Linked DNA regions of Homo sapiens: region 1 is linked to region 2. The links are contacts of gene promoters, found by promoter capture Hi-C in blood cells and fetal thymus (Javierre and others, 2016). All regions are on one chromosome and are shown on one strand. Each heading gives the region's core, a stretch centred on a gene start or on the middle of the fragment in contact. The rest is flanking DNA. Distances are from core to core; before and after follow the strand shown. Region 1 overlaps SLIT3 (slit guidance ligand 3). Region 2 holds the start of DOCK2 (dedicator of cytokinesis 2).

Region 1 (4,339 bases), core at 1,759-4,258, 650 kb before region 2:
TTAGGTTAAAATGACATTAAGACATCATTACTATCTTAAAAGGAGGCTAGAAAAGAAAAGAGAGGCCTGGCTCACGCCTGTAATCCCATCACTTTGGGAGGCTGAGGTGGGAGGACTGCTTGAGCCCAGGAGGTTGAGGCTGCAGTGAGCTATGATCATGCCACTGGATTCCAGCCTGGGTGAGAGAGAGAAACCCTGTCTCAAAATATATATATATTTTTTTTAATGGAAAAATAATGGATAAAATAAGTATTAATATAAATACTGTAAAATGTACTTGCAACAAACTAGAATATTACTTGATTTTGAAACTGAGTACCATAAAATTAAAAATAATGATAGAACTTTAGAAATTTTCAAAGGAGGAAGGAAAAGCAAATCTCAAGTAAATTAAAGTGCTGGTGAGCACGGGTAGGGGCAAGAACTCAATGTGGGGACTGGCTGGGCCCGTCGGTGCCTGATGCAGAGCTCCTCAAATTGCATCGCCCTCTTTAACAAGAGAACTGGTTATTCAATCTGCATTTCCTAAATGAGAACCAGCTACCCCATCTGAATTGCCCAAATTCAATTAAGTCACCTGGCATGCTTCCTGTCAATACCCTCTCTTTTGGCTCACTTTGTCTTTTAACCATTATCGCCTCTGATCATTGTGAAGTTAAGGGCCTCCAAGCTGTCTGTATAAGACCAACAACAGGGGAAAGCTTTTTCCAGCCCCACTGAAATATCAAGGTGAGGCTGCATGGGGCCTAATGACCTCTTGCTGTGAAAATGTCAGGGTAACTCTGAAAACCACTTGTGCCCTACTTTTCCAAGGAGAAGGGCCCCTTTTACACTGTTTTCTATGCTTTAATGGGCTACTTTCAGAATTTAGAGGCAAACAAATGTAATATAAGGCTGATTATCAGTTAAGTGTTAAACTGTGAGTTACAGGAAAAATGGATACATCACAGAAAAACATCCCAAACTTTAGTGGCCTTATCAACCCAGGCTGCTTGTTAAACACCAGATTGCTGCTCTCTGCACCTCCCATTCTGAATCAGGAGGTCTAAAGTAAGACCTCTATTTCTGCACTTTCAAGCATCCAGGTGATTATAATAATAAACTTTGAGAAGTAATGATCCAGAAATATCACACATAGGAGAGAAATGCTAAGAGGAAAGCAACAAGAAACCGGTAAGGGAGTCATCTAAAATTTTCAGGCCATTTCTTAGAATGACAATTACTTGACCCCCAACTGTGTTCTCTACTAGACATGAATTCTCTAAGATCAGGGATGTTCAGAGTTCCTTCCGTGGCCACCCTGGGCTTTGCACCTTGCAGGAAGAGTTCAATTCCTGGGTGGGGAATTAAACTGAACCTAAAGATCGCTTGAACTTTTTCCACAACTAGCCCAGGAGTCAGGACCTAGTTCCTTGTACCATCTGAACTGAGCCACGAATATGCCATCTTGGCTTCCAAGGTTATCCTGCCCATTTTTCTGGACTTCCTAAGATCTTGGATCGTCATATGAGATTGGGCTTCAGCAATCTCTGAACTGCCGTGGAGCAAACCAGATGCAAAGGCTTTGCTTCCGGCAAGGGGAGTCTGTGTCCTGGTGATGACAAACCAAGGAGAAAAGCAATCATGGTGCATGGGAACAACTGAGTGGTTGACTGCTTGCCTTCCCAGCACTTCTTTCCCTGTGTTTTACTGCAACAGCCCTCATTTTTATTTGCAGGTCCACTCCTCCCTAATTTCAGTTCCTATGCATGGTGGGCGCAGCATGTGGTCTGGGCTAAGGCAATTAGCATTTCTCATTCTCTGTCCCGTGACCATGCTGTAGCCAATGGGAGCAGATGTGCTCACAGGAATGCAGGGACAAAGACTCACCTTGAACCGGGAGGCTGTGAGGTTTGCAGCTGTGGTGGCCGTCTTGCTACAGTGAGGAGAGGGCTCCTCTCTGCAAATGGAGCCAATGCAGAAAAAACAAGAGAAGGAAAGGAGGGATGATGGCGGGGGGTAGGAAGAGAGATACAGAGACAGAGTATGGTGGTTGTATTTGAACCCCTGGTTAAATCATGCCTGGGAGTGCCGCACTCCCAAGCTTTTCAGACCCATAAGTCAATCATCTCTTTTTAAACTTGGGTTTGCTTTCCCTAAAACCTTGTGACTGAAAGGCACTTCATCATGTAGTAAGGCTTTTCAAATGAAACGTCCAGCCTCACGAAGAAATGCCTTCTATAAGGGGCTGACACTGAGTCTTCTCAAAAGGCATATGCATTCAGTTTACAAAATCAGAATATGTAATATACCTCATACTTTTCAGTTCTTTCATGTCTTTTCTTACGTCTGGTTCTCCCAATTCCCTGACAGTGCTAGATGCTAAGTAGGCAAATTTCATGACGTAGGGCAAAAATCACGATCCCTATATGATAGATGATGAAATGGAGGCCAAAAGGGGAGAATTAACCCACTTGAGATCGGTCAGTTTGTGAAGGAGCCATGCACCGCACTTCCCAGTGGTGTAGATAAGGGAAAGGAAATATTTGGACGGTGGCGCCCTTCTTACATGGCCTCCATAGCCCTCCTCTCCCTTTGGGTACCATGATGCTTTTCAGCTCACATTGGTACATTGGTAGCTGCAGGGAGAGGCTTCAACATATTTATCAGCGAAAACATCAGCATCCAGGCCCCCATCTCCATTCTCAGTGTCCTCGTCCATCCCACCCCTGCACGCTCTCTCCTTTATCATAACTTGCATGACCTGGACCATCCAGGCATGCTGTGAGCATGGCCCTCCCTTCCTGTGCTAGTGGGAGTTTTCTCCACCACAAGCAGTTTTAGCACAGGCTTGGAGTCAGAAGGACGTGGGTTCACATTGTGACTCCTTTATTATGAATGTGACCATGGGTGAGTGACCACCTCTCTACTGCTTAGATTCCTCACCTATAAAATGGGGGTCATAACAACAAAGACCTTGCAGGGCCTTTGCACATTAATGAGATACATATATAAAAAGCCTTTAGTGTGGGTTTAACTCATGATATACACATTGTTTACAAAGGCTAATATTTAGCCGGGCGTGGTGGCACGCACCTTTAATCCCAGGTACTCAGGAGGCTGAGGCAGGAGAATCGCTTGAACCCGGGAGGCAGAGGTTGCAGTGAGCTGAGATCATGCCACTGCACTCCAGCCTGGGCAACAGAGCGAGATTCCATCTCAAAAAATAAAAGAAGGCTAATATTTATCAAACACGGACTTGGCCAGCTTATTAATGGTCACTAAGCTGTAGCTCTCTCTGTTGATCTGATTCCTATCCATCCTTCAACAGCTACTTCAAATCCCACCTTCCCCTTAACCTGGAATCCTGACAACTCTAGTTCTCTCTCCCTCTTTACTCTGGATTCCACTGCTTTTGATGTCAGAGTCACTCCCTGCTTTGCATTCTTCCTTTATGTTCACCAAGTTAATCTCTCCCACATATTCACAATGACCTATTTCTCCCACCCAGACTATCTATGTGGTCCTATTTTTCTATTCACGCTAATCTCTCTAGCAGTATAGCCTAGTGGTCCAGACCATGAGCTTTAGGGCCAGCCAATCCTGGTTTCAAATCCTAGCTCTTTGCTGTGTCACCTTAAAAATGTACTTAACCTCTGAGTGTCAGTTTCCTCATCTGTAAAATGGTGATGATTCCTGCCTGTCAGGGTTGTTAAGCACACTATAGGAGATACTACATGCAAACTGCTAAGCGTATTTATCACATGCACACAGTAAAGCTCTACCCTTGGTAACATAATGATAGTCTTAGCCACACAAGCATCTAGCTCACTGCCTCGTACCCTATAGGAACCGAATTGATTTAAACCCAGAGGCATTTAGTCCTCTGTGGTTACCTGTACTTTCCCACATTCCCACTCATGGCCACAAGGTGGCAGCCCACCCATTATGGAGGAAGCTTTTATTTCCAGAACGGGAAAGAACGAAATGATTTCTTATGGAATATATAGATGACTTCTTTTTCGGTGTTAGGTAGGTGGGGGGACTGAATATCCTCATAGGCCCCTGGTTCCATTTTCTGTGAGTGCACTACCTGTACACATGGGACCACTGTGTCACAGCTGAAGCAGATCAAACAAGTCAACTGCACATTAAGGTGTTCTCTTCTAGGGAATGTGGCTGGCACCTGTCTCCCCCTTTCTTTCAGCCACACTCCATCAGAAAGCCTGCGGGGTTTAGAAACCTCCCTAGGCTGGGCTTCGCCATCCTGCACCTGTATTAAGGTGTCAGGGAGTCTGGTGAATGGACCATATGTGCACCTATGGTGACCATTTTGTCTGAGACTTTCTGGGTTTTAAAA
Region 2 (4,723 bases), core at 1,854-4,353:
TCTGTAGCATTCTGTTATAGCAGCACAAAACAAACAAAGCAGAGGAGAAAGCATTGTGTTTATTACATGTTGACACTCCAAACAATATAATAGATTAAGCACTCATCACATCTTTTCCAACTTACACAAAAGCAATGACAAGAAAAATTAGAAAATTTAAAACAGAATATCTCATCACAGCACAATTTCTTTAAAATAATAAAAAGTGAAAATGAGACTACAACCAGAATAAGTTTCCAAGTGGCTTATTTGTTATGCAAGCAAGGCAAAATATTTTATTGATGTTAAGTTCATTAAATCATGTTTGATTATAGCAGCAGATGAAATATATCCAGTGAAAATAAATTAGTTTAAGACTTTTAGCCTTTTGGTGACACTGGTTGCTTGGTTGAGAACATTGACAGAAGCATCAATAGTGAATTTTAAAATGACTTCTAGTGGTTTTCCTTAGTTCTTGTTGACAAATATTACCAATACAGCTCAGTTGTTGTTTATTTGAGAAGTCAATGCTGAGTTCGAAGTGAATGAAGAAATAGCTTCTATGAAGAGCCTGTGTAGAAGAACTATAGGCAAGATTACTTTAAAAGAAAATGAGAAAACACTAATTCAACACAACCTGAAGTGGAATCTGCTAAGATGTGTTGCTAGTGTTCATGGTAAAAAAAATATCTGTGGAGCAGAAGAAGGCTTTTGGAGCAAATTTAGAAGGTGGGTGAAAATATAAGATATTTAAAGCTTATGATTATTAATTGTAATATTCACCATCAGGTACTTTGTGGAAAATATCTAAATCTGTGATGTTATTGAATCAGTGGTATCAAAGGTTAATTTTATTAGCTTTTCTGGACTTTTAACCATTGCCCATTTGGTAAACATTTTTTTCAGAAATAGAAAGTAAATATCCTGTCAGATCAGCATTAACATATGAATATTTGAATCAATTTCGATAAGGCACATTAACTTTGAACTCCAATAAGGTGAAATGTGATATCATTCCCAAAATGTATTTTTTTTTGCCTTACTAAGCTAGTATTACAAAAAATACTCATTCACATGATATTTTGAATTTTATTAATAAAAAAAATTTAGAACCTTTTTTCTTTCTTTACATAAGTACCTGCATCCTACATATATACTTGATTTTGCTTTCTGGACTGCAAAGACTAAAATACTATCTGTGACTTTACAGAAAATGTTTGGCATCCTCTATTGTATAGTCCCAATTTATAACATTGTTGTGATAGCTAGTTTTGTGAGTCAACTTGGCAAGGCTATGGCCCAGTTATTCAATCAAATACCAATCTTCACAATCTTCACAGGGGTTGCTGTGAAGTACTTTGTAGATGTGATTAACATCTACCATACATTGAATTTAATTAAGGGAGATTATCCTCAATACATTTGGTTGGTGTGATCCAATTAGTTGACAAACCTTATGAATAGAACTGAGGTTCCTTGAAAAAGAAGAAATTCCTCCTGAGGACATCTGCCTGTGAGTTTCCAAACTGCTCTTCCTGACAGCCCCACAATCGCATTAGCCAATCCCCAATCTCTCTCTGTCTCTCATATACATATATATGTATGTGTATATATATATATATATATATGCATATATGTATGTGTATATATATATGCATATATGTATGTGTATATATATGCATATATGTATGTGTATATATATGCATATATGTATGTATGTATGTGTATATATATATGCATATATGTATGTATGTATATATATGTATGCATATATATAAAATCTCCTACTCTGGTCATCTGGTGGAACCCTAATACCACTGCTGACTGTATAAGACATTATTACCTAATTTGTGCTGCTAGAAAACAGAAAAGAAAATAACTGCAGATAAAACAAAATCAATAATTTTTTGTTGCTCCAGTTCAGCTGTGATATTGCCTAATCTATCTTAATGACTCTCCAGTGTAAGGCAGAAAGGGGTAGTGAGAGTCATGAATAAAGAAAGAAAACTCAGCAAAACTTAAATTCAGCCTTATCACTGTGGATCAGACTTTTTTTTTTTTTTTTTGGACAGAATCTGTTCTCAGAGCAAAAATGAGATTTTTCGAGGAAATGTCTCCATTAGCCTAACTCTAGGGCTCTTTTCCTGGGTCCCACTGTTGCTGGCTGTGACAGCACCCTTCACCTTGCAGTGATGTTGGTAAATAGTGTATTTACGTATTTTCAGAGTAGAGCTTCTAGAGCTTACATCAGATTTTCCAACGGGTTTGTAGCACCAAAACGATAAAAAGCTGTAAATGGGCCAGGCACGGTGGCTCACACCTGTAATCCCAGCACTTTGGGAGGCTGAGGCTGGCGGATCACCTGAGGTGGGGAGTTCGAGACCAGCATGACCAACATGGAGAAACCACGTTTCTACTGAAAATGCAAAGTTAGCCGGGCATGCTGGTGCATGCCTGTAATCCCAGCTACTGGGAAGGCTGAGACAGGAGAGTCGCTTGAACTCGGGAGGCGGAGGTCGCGGTGAGCCGCGATCGCGTCGTTGCACTCCAGCCTGGGCAGCAAGAGAGAAACTCGAAACTCCGTCTCACAAAAAAAAAAAAAAAAGGCTGTAAAGGATCCACCTCCAGGTAAACATTTACTCTTCCATGTCACCTGCTGTGTACATTGTCTCTCTAACCCTCACAATAATCATATGAAGTAGGTATTAGTATCCCATTTCACAGATGAGAAAACTGAAGCTTAGAAAAATGAAGTCATTTGTCCCCGTCTGGATTCGAACCGAGATCTGACACCAAAGCTCATGCTGAGGGGAGTTAAGGAGGTTTGTTCAGTCCCTAGGCACGGCAATCAGGAAACTCTCTGCACTTGCGGTGGTGGTCTGGCGAGCCCCAGGTGGGGACTGGCCTCTGCTCCCTCGCCTGGGGAGGAGACAAAGTGGGAGTGGTCCCCAAGTTTTGCGTGAAGTGGGGTGGGGTGGCGTGTCTTAGCCTACGGGGCACCAGCCTTCTAGTGTGCCCCTGCCCAACGGGAGGGAGGAGGGAGCGGGGAGCCCCGGCGAGGGAGGAGAGGGCGGGCCCTGAGAGGAGTTTGAAAAGAGGAAGGAAGTGGGGCCCTGCGGCGCCCAGCCACCCCCTGACGGCTTCCCCACGGGAGGACGCGAGGCCCCGGCCCAGCCATGGCCCCCTGGCGCAAAGCTGACAAGGAGCGGCACGGCGTGGGTAGGTGCGGGCCCCAGGGCGCGGCAGGGAGCGGGACAGGTGGCGGGAGAGCCGCGAGCAGGAGGATGCTGCGGGGCCGGCGGCGCGGGGTGGGCAGGGCGCGCTGCCTGCAGGTCAGAGGGCGCAGCCTGCGGCGGGGCCTCGGGGCGGGAAAGCCGAGGCTCGGGGAGAGGACGGCGGGACCCCACCCCGCAGGCTAAGCACAGCCCTCGCCCTCTCGCCTGCTGAGGGAACCTTAGACATTTCCGAGATAGGGTCAAGACCTGCGCTTGACAACTCAGTTCTTCGCGCCAAACTCGGCGTCCCCAGGAGTGCCCCAGCTCGCCGCGTGGGAGACTTGGCCTTGTAGAGGGAGCTCCACTCTCCCCTGGCTCAGCCTTGGCCTGCCCACCATGCATACTTCCACCCCCTCCAAAGCGACACCCATTTGCCTGCTTCCCCTGTCTGTTCCTCCTGGGTCAGATGACTCCTGATTTGGCAGGGCATCCAGAGGGCAGCTCAAGCTTGGGGGAATGGGGCTGGACGGTGGGGTTCTCTACTCAGCCCCCCAGAGCCTCTGGGGAAAAAGGCTCCCGCCAGGTGGTCTTAGGGTAACCAAGAAGCTAGCTTCGTCAGCCTCAGCCATCTAAACTCCCAGAAGCCTCTGCCTGGAGCTCAGGGGCGGAAGTGGTGGCTGGGGGAAGGGAGGCCTCAGGTGCTGCTACTCTAAGTGTCATCCGTGGTGCAATCTCCATGGACTCACTGTGGTTTTTAAACTTAAATATCAAATAAAAAGTCACTCTGGAGCTTCCTACACAGGCGGATACCAGACACCATCTCAGAGATAAATATTTCGCAGGTGAGGCATTGGAAGACCCAAACACCCAGAGGGATTTGATGCAGGGGGTCCCCAGGCCACTGTTTGGGAAACACTGCCCTGGAGAGATCAGCAGTTATCCACTCAATTACTGGGTACCGGGCACTGTGGGGTCATTTTGATATAAATGGTCCCCATCCAGAGAACAAATAATAATTCATATCTCAAGGGGCAGTTACAAAGTAAGGAAGGATACAGCTTCTGCCCTTGAGGAGTTATGTGTAAGGCTAGAGGCTTGGACTGGGAAGTCAGAACTGAGTTCAAATCAGGGTCTGTTTCCTCGTCTATAAAGTGGAAGTAATAATAATGCAGGTCTCATGAGACTCTTGTGAGGATTGAATGGGGTTATGCATGGAAAGCATTTAGTAGTGTGCTGGCTCAATAAGAGTTAGTGATTCAGGTCCAGGGTCTTACCTAGCAGCTTCAGAACCAAGAGACACCAGCACCAAGATGCACCCTAATGCCAGATTCAGGACAGTCATGCCTTATGAGACTGTAGTATTTCATGGTTTGCAAGACCAAAGGTCATGCAATCTCTGTCTGACTTCAGAACCCCCATGTGAGGCAGTGTATTATTCCCAACTTACAGGTGAAGTAACCAAGTTTACATCACTTGGAAGCAATGGAGCGGGCCTTAAATTCAATTGTCTTCAGACCCTAGGCCCTTTG

What was found. The method cuts DNA at HindIII sites, captures the fragments that hold promoters and counts their contacts. A CHiCAGO score of 5 or more calls a contact.
Region 1: a fragment that was not itself captured here is called in contact with the fragment with the promoter of DOCK2 in region 2 in 1 of 17 cell types (naive CD4 T cells); the score reaches 6.6 in naive CD4 T cells.

What each region holds. Positions count from the first base shown.
Region 1 is chr5:168,983,848-168,988,186 of GRCh38, forward strand. All of the region lies in intron 4 of SLIT3 (slit guidance ligand 3), which reads right to left. Among named protein-coding and RNA genes, the nearest start is that of SLIT3-AS1, 27 kb to the right of the region's middle. RefSeq lists an enhancer at 398-979. The HindIII fragment of the contact is 1,854 bases long and covers 2,082-3,935 here.
Region 2 is chr5:169,634,172-169,638,894 of GRCh38, forward strand. It overlaps DOCK2 (dedicator of cytokinesis 2), which reads left to right and starts at 3,104. Exons shown (of 52, transcript NM_004946.3): 1 at 3,104-3,198. The coding sequence starts at 3,156. RefSeq lists silencers at 2,972-3,451, 3,482-3,541 and an enhancer at 3,802-3,901. The HindIII fragment of the contact is 983 bases long and covers 2,717-3,699 here.